Linked DNA regions of Homo sapiens: region 2 is linked to region 1. The links are contacts of gene promoters, found by promoter capture Hi-C in human tissues and cell types (Jung and others, 2019). All regions are on one chromosome and are shown on one strand. Each heading gives the region's core, a stretch centred on a gene start or on the middle of the fragment in contact. The rest is flanking DNA. Distances are from core to core; before and after follow the strand shown. Region 1 holds the start of FGFBP3 (fibroblast growth factor binding protein 3). Region 2 has its middle 55 kb from the start of TNKS2-DT.

Region 1 (4,978 bases), core at 2,449-4,948:
ACCCGGGAGGTGGAGCTTGCAGTGAGCCGAGATCGCGCCACTGTACTCCAGCCTGGGCGACTGAGCAAAACTCCGTCTCAAAAAAAAAAAAAAAAAAACAGAGGTTGGAATGAGATGATAGTTGGCTTCGAAGATGGAAGAAAACCAAGGGCCAAGGAATGTGGACAGCTCTAGAAGCTGGAAAGGGCAAGGAAATTGATTCTTCCCTAGAGCCTCCATTGTTCATTTCTACTCAGGTTGGCCTGACTCCCTGCTGCTTCTAGCTTGACCTTTTCTGGGACTCTTGTTTTGGCCTTGAACCTTGTCCTGTTGAATAGCAAGATTGGAACTTACCCAGGGTTTTCTTTCAATCAGCAGAATGTGGAAAACTAAGATACATCTTTCAGATGATAGTGTACCCACCATGCTTACAAGCAATTCACAGGCCCTGCGCATAATCAAAGAAAGGGGAATACACAGAGGTGAGAATACCAGGAGGTAGGGATCATGTAAGTAACTATATTATATACTTATAGTCTGCCACCATATGTAACTTGTAGAGTTGAGAATAATAAAGTAATGATTTACTCTTATTTGAAGAATTAGAATTTAACTGATTATGAACAAATTTTGTGTTGAGATCATAGGTGTTTAGGGTGCAAGGACTATGAAGTTGTTGTTTTAATATAGTATGCAATGGTATGCTTCAAATGGAGGACCAAAATATTCAGAATAAAGCGATCTCACCTTGTTAAGGGAATGACCATGAGGATTTAACTTCAAGTTCCCAAATAAGTGGTTGCAACACACACACACATATATACACACACACACATTTATATATATAATGGAAAAACATATATATAGTTGCCCCTCCACATCCGTGGGCTCTGCATCCACAGATTCAACAATGGATGGGAGGAAGGTGGGGAGGAAGGGAAAAAGAAAGAGAACCAGGGTGCAAATCAAATAGAACAATGATAAGGCCAGGTGGCTGCCAGTTTGTGACTCTTGCTTTATGTCAACTTCTTAGTTTCTGTCTTTTCCCAGCAATTCAAGATGTGTTTAAGAACTTAATTCAAGGTGTACTTGGAAGTAGATCAAATGCAGGTAGAATTTCCATTGCCTTGCCACTTCTTTAAATCTAACCATACAGTTTTTATTGAGCACCTAACATACACACACAGTCTCTCATTACATCACACTAAAAATGAAATATATTAATAATTAGTTACATGAAACAGAGAGATACAACTTCCATAATGGTCAAAATGACTCTGAGATACATACTTACATTTTAGCTGTTTAAAAAAAAAAATCAGATATAAAGAGAATCACTGTTTACTGGAGCACTCAACATCTATAATTCCTTCTAAATGCAGAAGGTTAATGGGAAAGTTCCAGAACATTAGTCACCATTTCGTTAAAAAGTAGCACTTCTAGTGGCACACCCCTGTAGTCCTGGCTACTCCGGAGGCTGAGGCAGAGGATCACTTGAGACTGGAATGTCGAGGCCGCAGTGAGCCATAATTGCACCACTGCTCCAGTCTGGATGACACAAGACCCTGTCTCAAAAATAAAAATAAAGTAGCACTTCTAAGCCAAGTGCAGCTGTGCATGCTTGTAGTCCCAGCTACTCCTACTCCTAGCTATTCTGGAGGCTAAGATGTGAGGATCCCTTGAGGCCAGGAGTTGGAGACTGCAGTGCCTATTATTACACCTGTGACTAGCCACCGCACTCCAGCCTGGGCAAGCCAGACCCTGTCAGGGAAAAAAAAAAAAAAAGGTAGCTCTTCTAAAAGAATGGAAAGGAAATCATTCTGCAAAACTTTCCTTGGAGCCAGTTTTGACCTGTGAGGCTTCTGTCCCTATAGAGGTTATCTATGACACCCACCACGCCGCATCCAAGTTTATACCAATTCAGAAACGGAAAAAAAGTCTGCAGTCTTGTTAGCTGATTAAGTGAGAAGACATTGATTCAACCTGGCTCAGGTTGGCAATTGCTCATGGCTGCATTTAATAGAAATGTTAAACAATAAACATTGCATCCCCCTCCCCACATGGGACTCACATCACTTTAGTCACTCTATCTCCCCCTTATTCTCAGCCTCCCTCTGCATCGATTTCTCTCCCCAGTCTCCAGTTTTTGCACATTTAAAGTACGCCTATTTCTGTTTCCATTATTTTTCCTGCTCTTAATCAGGACTGAGACTTTTCAAAATTTTTAACTTCTCTGCTATCCCAGAGATTCTCCATACCCCTTACACTCTCATCCCAAGCATCTCACCCTTACCCTTGCCCCCACCCCCATTCGAGAACCTGGACTTCTCCCCAATCTCTATCACAGTACCCCCCGGTCTAAGACGCCCTTAGCTTTCCCTTCCCCACGCCTCCCCCATCAACCCTCCCTAAGCCGGCAGGCAGTCTCAGCCGTTCCAGAAATTGACAAAGAAGTTGCAGAGGGAGTGCCACTTCTCAGCGCAGTAGGTCTCCGTGAGCTCCGCGTTCCCGTCCAGCCCGTCGGGGTCGGGCCCGGTCCCCATGGGTCGCTCCTCGTTGGGGACCAAGGCCGCCTTCCTCTTGCCCTCGTTGGTCTTCCTCTCTGAGGGGTTTTCTTTGGGCGGTGCGCTTTGGGGAGGCGGGGTCCCAGCGGCTGGGCCGGACGCACGCTCCCGGGTCCGCCCCCGGTTCCGGGCCCGGGGCTTGGACTCCCCCGCGAATCCCGCGACGGTGGGGCGTGCGGGCGGGGACGCGCGGGGCACTAGCCGCAGCTCGGCGCCGTGGCCCTTCTTGCCCGCGCACAAGCGGGCCTGGAGCGGCGCGGGGTCGTGACAGGGCCTCCGCTTCTTGCGCAGCCCTCCCAGCACCTGCTTCCAGAAGTGCGCGCGGCGAGCGGCGTAGGCTGCGCAGCGCTCCGGATGCCCGCGGTAGGCGCACTGGTGGCGCGCCCCGTCCGGGCTCTGGCAGCGCAGCGCCAGCTCGCTGCCCGCTGCGGCCTCCGGGGCGGGCAGCAGGAGCTGCCAGCTGCACGCGTGCTGCTCGGGGCTGAGGAAGCGACCCGAGGAGCCGCCAGTGGGCCCGGGGACCGGCTCCGCCACGTTGCTAGCCGCCCCTTTCTCCCTCCGAGCAGCCGCGAGGAGGCAACCACTCAGCAGCAGCAGCAGCGACGGCGACAGCGACGCTCGCAGCTTCGGAGGAGTCATGCTCCGCGGTTTCCGCGCTCCGCTGTTCTCAGACCACGTTTGTCGGGGCTGGACCAGGCAAAGAGCATTCCCCAGGACCTGCGGACAGAGGCAGAGACTGCCACCAACTGAGCCACACGCAGCGCTTCGCCCAGACACATGCACCTGCGAACTACTCTTCCGCAGACTTTCTAGAATCTGCAGCCTGCGAGGAGACCCTCTGAGGAGCTTTCCTGGGGAAACTGCTTACTGTCTAAATAATCACTTTCGAACCATGTATGCATTGAGATTTTCTTCCCCTTGCAAATACGATAGCAAAACGATGCGTGATAATTGCCCCCTCTACCCCTTCCTTCATTTTCTCCCTTCTCCAACCTGCAATAAACTATCTACAAAATCATTTCAGATGATTCCTTGGAAACATGCACTTTACTACACTTTGAACTTACCGAGTTCTGGGAGAGGCGCCAAAGCCTTATTAGGGTAGAGGGAACGACTGCACGGGGGAGTAGTCTGTTTTAGCCGGCTCCCTGTGAATGAACGTGGTATCAATGGAACAGAAGAGGCCTACCCTTCTTCGCCCCTCCCCGATTTCTCTCACACTGGGAGACTTATCACCGCCGCGCTTCTCTCTCTCTCTCCCTCTCTCTCTCTGTCTCTCCAGATGGATGATGGAAGCGGTCCTGTAGTATGAAATACAAATCTTGTATTTTGCTTCCAATGTTTAAAATAATCAGGCAAAATTAACCAAGTTTTTCTTCTTTCATGTACTTAACCATCCAAAAAATAAAAATTAAACAAAAGATCTAAGTTTTAAAAGTTAAATAAAATGAAACAAAACAAACTTCAGTATTCTAAACTAGGCATTTTTTACACAATTATATCATTTACATTCTATTTCTCATATTCTGAGTTCTACATTTTTACCTATTATTTCCAATAGCCTTTCTTAAGACTCTCAATCTTAATAATTGTTACTACTAATAAAAATATAATATCCTAGTTTATTAACATACAATAGTGCCCAGCAGTTCACCCAGGAGTGGACATTTGGGCTTTTTATTATTTTTAGGTATTAGAAATCAGTTATAAGGGTCCTCCAAAAATTAGAAGTTTAAAAAAATTATTTGTATTATAGTAGTTGAACGGTAAGATTACCAATTGAAATGGTATAATAGTTAAGAATGTGAGACCAGCCTGGCCTGGTGAAATCCCGTCTCTACTAAAAATACAAAAATTAGCCAGGCGTGGTGGCAGATGCCTGTAATCCCAGCTACTCAGGAGGCTGAGGCAGGAGAATCACTTGAACCCGGGACAGGGCGAGACTGCCTCTCAAAAAAAAAAAAAAAGAGAGAGAGAATGAATGTGTTCTTGAATCTTGAAAATGTTACATTTAAGCAAAGCTGCTTTTTCTGGAGGGGGGGATTGTGTGTGTGTGCGGGGGTTTGTTTGTTTGTTTGTTTGTTTGTTTGTTTTGAGACGGGAGCTCACTCTGTCACCCAGGCTGGAGCGCAGTGGTGCTATCTCGGCTCACTGCAACCTCTGCCTTCCCGGTTCAAGCGATTCACCTGCCTCAGCCTCCCCAGTAGCTGGAATTACAGGTGCCTGCCACAACACCCAGCTAATTTTTAGTGGAGAAGGGGTTTCACCATGTTGCCCAGTCTGGTATCGAACTCCTGACCTGAGATGAGCCACCTGCCTCAGCCTCTCAAAGTGCTGACCAAGCAAAGCTGTTTTTTCTTTCTTTTTTTTTTTTTTTGCTCTTTTTAAAATTTTTATTTAGAAGCCTACTTGTAGAAGTTAGCATAATTTTACAG
Region 2 (4,625 bases), core at 897-3,396, 170 kb before region 1:
CCCCCAAATATCTGCTTGGAGTGTACTGGTCTTCCTGATGTTTCAGTCCCTCAGTGACACATGTTCCGCCTGGCTGTGTCTAGTCAACCATCTTGCTGAGGATCAAGAATATGTGTTTTAAATCAGAATGTAGTTTGGCAACCAACAGCACTCACGCCATATCAAAATTCATTGCCAACAAATCCCTACCTTCCTGCTGACTATGACAGTCTGCTACCCACCTCAGTGACAAAAACTGGCAGCCAGCATGCTCCTTCCCCTACTTTGGTGTTAGTGGGCTATCCTTCTCCCTCCCTATTTGGAAATCACTAAGGCCTAAGACCCTTTCTGTGAGCTGCCTCTAACATGCCAAAGGGAAGAGAGTAGGAACTTTGGCACCCTAATTTTAAAAGAATGCTAGCCCATGATGTAAAAGGAAGACTATATTCTTCTCCAAATGTGGACACTGCCTGTTTCCTTTACTGCCGTTATTAGCTGATGTCTTTGGCAGAGAACACATTGAGTAAGTTTTTCCAGGATGGGTTTGTAACATTGGAAATATAACATCTAAATATAACAAACTTCTGATTGTTTCTCAGTTTGCACCCACACATTTACCAAGACACCTCATTTTTTGAAAAAGTTTTTAACAAGGCAAGAGCCAAATTTACACTCCCTTCTTTTCCTTCCCAATGGCAAGTCATTCCAATATTTATTTTTCTTTTTCTTTTTTGTCTATTCTTTCTCTTCTTCTTAATTAAAAGAAGATGTTTTTTGTCACCCGTAAACACTGCAATTCCTCATTTTCCCTTTTCTGTAGGCTGGCCTCATTTTTCCTGCCCTCTACCTGAACAATAGAATTTTTTTAAAAAAAACATTAAACTGAATTGTTAGTAATTTATAATTGAGATTTTAAGTTTAGCATATAAAAACTGAATATGAATAGGATTTGACTCAACAGGTTATTTCTTTATAAATCTAAATATAGATGTGTTTAATGTTCGTTATAAATGGCTTTTAAAAAGGCAAGTGACAACACTGGAAAAAATAAAGTGCTTTTAAGAAGAAATGTAAACATTTTTCTTAGGAAACTCATTTTGGAAGTTTGCATGCTGTCATTATGCCAATATCACATTATAATAAACAATAAAAATGAACTACTATAAACTCTCTTCTCCTGGAATCAATGGTATGAATTTAATAGGCAATCCAGAGCTCCAGCTTCAACTTTAATCAATTCCAAAGTCAAATTTCTGATTATCATATGCTCTACTTAATGAGTAACTAACTGGAGAGTAAGACCTCAGTTTGATTGCAGCATGTTATGTACAAATCAGACCACTAGTTTTTCTATTTTTACCACAGTTAAAGAGTAACAAATATGTCTTAAAAGACCCTGGAAAAGTACCACAAAGCTGGAAGAACTGAAAAAAAAGTAATGCTTCTAAGCACAAGTTATTTTTAGATTCTAGGTTTCATTTTTCCATACGATCTCAGAATATAATACAAAATACCAAGCTACAAAAACAATAAATAATTTCCACCATCAGTATTACTTAAGCCTTGGTTGTCTTGTGTGAGAACTAGGTCACACAGATTCAAGCATAACCAAGACTTTTTTAATCTGTTCCCTAAGAATGCCTCAAGATTTTAAGTCCCAATTCTGCCACTAAAGAGCTATGTGACATTAGGAACACAATTAGCTTTTCTGGGTCTCAGTTTTCTTATTTGTAAAGCAGAGATAATTCTTCTTACAGGGCTGTTGTGAGGATCAAATGATAGAATATATATGAAATATCTAATTCAGTGCCTAGATTCCAGTGAATTTCCTTCAAACCCCTTTCCCACACTCCCCATCGCTAAATTTCCATGCTTAATATTACGTGCCAACAGGGATGTGAGTATTCCTTCCATTCCTCAACAGCAATGAGTTGAACATTGATTTGTGTTGATAGATGTTCTTGAAAAATACACTGTTTTGTATGCATATAATTTTAATTGATATAAATAGTATTGTGTAATGTATCTCATTTAACTTCTTATTCTACTTCTTATTTGGTTTGGGGCTTGGTGTTCTTTGTTTCTTATTGTGGTTTGGGAAAAAAATAGAAAATCTGTTATAAATTAGTCCCTCACAGCTCTTTTTCAAAGGCAAATTCAAAAGTGAGATTTTATAGGTCAGATATGTCCAAAATCAAATGCCAATGAGTTAAATTCATATCTTTTTGCTTGTAAGTATTCTTGCAAAACACATGGTTTTGCATAAAGGTAAAGATAGTTGTAATTTACTTAAATAGCATTGTGCTATATATCGTTCTATTTATCTTTTCTCCCCTCTGCACTATGCTTTGAAGTTCATCTATATTGTCAGATGTGTATCTATTTAGCTGCTTCTCATTTTTTCCCTTATTCTCATAGTATACAATCTCCAAATTATACCTAGCCACTTTTCTAGTGATGGGCACTCAGGAGGGCATTCATCCATCTACCACCATAAAGAATGCTGAAATGAACATTCTTATGTGAGTTCCCACACAGGCAGCCAAAGCTATGAGGAAAGGTGTATACACAAAGGGCCTTGTTATGAGATTGCTGACTCAGCCATGAACAGAGATTCTAGATAGAGAATCAAACCAGTTAGAGCAATGAGCTTAGAGATACAATCTTCATTTTTGTTTTGTTTTGCTTTAATAACAGAATCACGAAGATTTTAAATATTACTTTTAAAAAGCTTGGCTGCATCATAGTTAAATAGTGTTTAGAAAAAGTTCCACCTACCTGTTTTAATAAAGCTGTTTTTTGGATTTGTTTGTTGGTTTTTTTTTTTTAAGATAAAACTACTACATCAAAAGCCATCTCTAGTGCAAAAAATTAACAAACCAAAATTTTTTAGTTTAGAATAAAAGTTTCAAGAGTTAACTTTTGGAAAGCCAAAGTTATCCCCTAAAAAATACTAACATGATTTTTATTTTTGCTGTATAAAGTTTGCTGATAGTGAAAAGAAAATCCATTCTTTAGTTAAAGATCTTTTAACTCATTCCTAAAATTCTAGAACAATTCATGATCTTATAAAGATAACGGAACATAAGAAAAATTATGTGCTATTAAAAATAACTATCCTGGAGAGGAAAAAGGCTTTCGGTTCAAAAATGGTGATGTAGAAGCAAGGTGGCTTCACTTCCCACGGCAGAAAACAAAAAACAAATGTACAGCACCGAGATTATCATCAGCAATATCCCAGAACTCAGATGGAAAGACGAGACAGTTCCCAAGGCCACAGAGAAGTGAAACAACTCTGAGCAGATGGTGAGGAAATCAGACTTCCACAGCCACAAAGCCCATCCCTCCATTTTGTCTGACATCCAGCGCATAGAAAATTTTTCCTGTTTCAGAATAGGGATAGCATTAGGAGGAACATCTAATGTAAATGACGAGTTAATGGGTGCAGCACACCAACATGGCACATGTATACATATGTAACAAGCCTGCATGTTGTGCACATGTACCCTAGAACTTAAAGTATAATAATAAAAAATAATAATTAATAAATAAGTAAATAAAAATTTTCTCCAGGGTGCACGGGCTCACGTCTGTAATCCCAACATGTTGGGAGGCCTAGGCAGGCGGATCGCTTGAGGCCAGGAGTTCCAGACCAGTCTGGCCAACATGGTGAAACCTCATCTCTACTAAAAATATAAAAATTAAGCTGTGTGTGGTGGTGCACGCCTGTAATCCCAGCTACGCAGGAGGCTGAAGGAGGAGAATTGCTAGAACCCGGGAGGCGGAGGCTGCAGGGAGCCGAGATCGCGCCACTGCACTGAAGCCTGCGCAACAGGGCCAGACACTGTCAAAAAAAAAAAAAAAAAAAAGGAAAAGAAAAGAAAGAAAGGAAAATTTCCTGCCAACTCATGGTTTCTACACTGCAAAAAGTGAGCTCAAGTGGACAACCAGCTTCCCCATCAACTCGGTTTCCCTGGCAGGAGGCCCGTCCCTGCCTTAACGCACAGGAAGCATTGCAATTGCCTGAAGGAAGAAATATCCCTGAGGACAGACAGTAAAAGGTGGAGATGGGAATGCTATGCCCGGCCCTGAAAACTATGCTCTGTAATTTAGCTGAAGGAGGCGCCAAATTAGAGTGGCCATTCAACAGCACCATGCCGTAGGAGGTACGTTCCACAGGTCCCCAGGGCACAAACCCCTGGCCGGCATTCCTACACTGCCGGGATATCCCTCTCTGATACCTCCCCGATTCTGGACCGTCATTGTTCCCATCATTTACTAGAGCTGAGGTGAACCTGGGCTTAAGGTGCCACCTAGAGCTGCAAAGGCGGCAGTGACCTAGTGGTAAAGAATCTCTACTCAGCCAGATGCAGCGGCTCATGCCTGTAATCCTAGCGCTTTGAGAGGCTGAGGCAGGATTATCGCTTGAACCTGAGTGTGAGACGAGCCTGAGCAGAAACCCAACTCTAGGAAAAATGTCTAAAAATTACTCAGGCATGGTGGTGTATGCCTGTAAGTCTCAGTTACTCGGGGGAATGAGACAGGAGCATTGCTTGAGCCTAGAAGTTCAAGTCTGCAGTGAACTATGATCACCACTGCACCCTAGCCTGGGTGATAGAGCAAGGCCCTGCCTCGAAGAGAAAAAG

Evidence for each region. The method cuts DNA at HindIII sites, captures the fragments that hold promoters and counts their contacts. A contact is called where the count stands out against the background at its distance.
Region 2: a contact is called between a fragment that was not itself captured here and the fragment with the promoter of FGFBP3 in region 1, in 1 of the 25 tissues and cell types used here (liver).

The regions. Positions count from the first base shown.
Region 1 is chr10:91,905,788-91,910,765 of GRCh38, forward strand. It overlaps FGFBP3 (fibroblast growth factor binding protein 3), which reads right to left and starts at 3,699. Exons shown (of 2, transcript NM_152429.5): 1 at 3,611-3,699; 2 at 797-3,260. The coding sequence starts at 3,182. The coding sequence ends at 2,406. FGFBP3-AS1 (FGFBP3 antisense RNA 1) reads left to right here and starts at 2,342. Exons shown (of 2, transcript NR_199602.1): 1 at 2,342-2,462; 2 at 3,110-3,561. RefSeq lists a silencer at 2,572-3,141 and an enhancer at 3,045-3,339. The HindIII fragment of the contact is 15,807 bases long and covers 1-4,978 here.
Region 2 is chr10:91,741,104-91,745,728 of GRCh38, forward strand. No RefSeq gene overlaps it. Among named protein-coding and RNA genes, the nearest start is that of TNKS2-DT, 55 kb to the right of the region's middle. The HindIII fragment of the contact is 3,672 bases long and covers 311-3,982 here.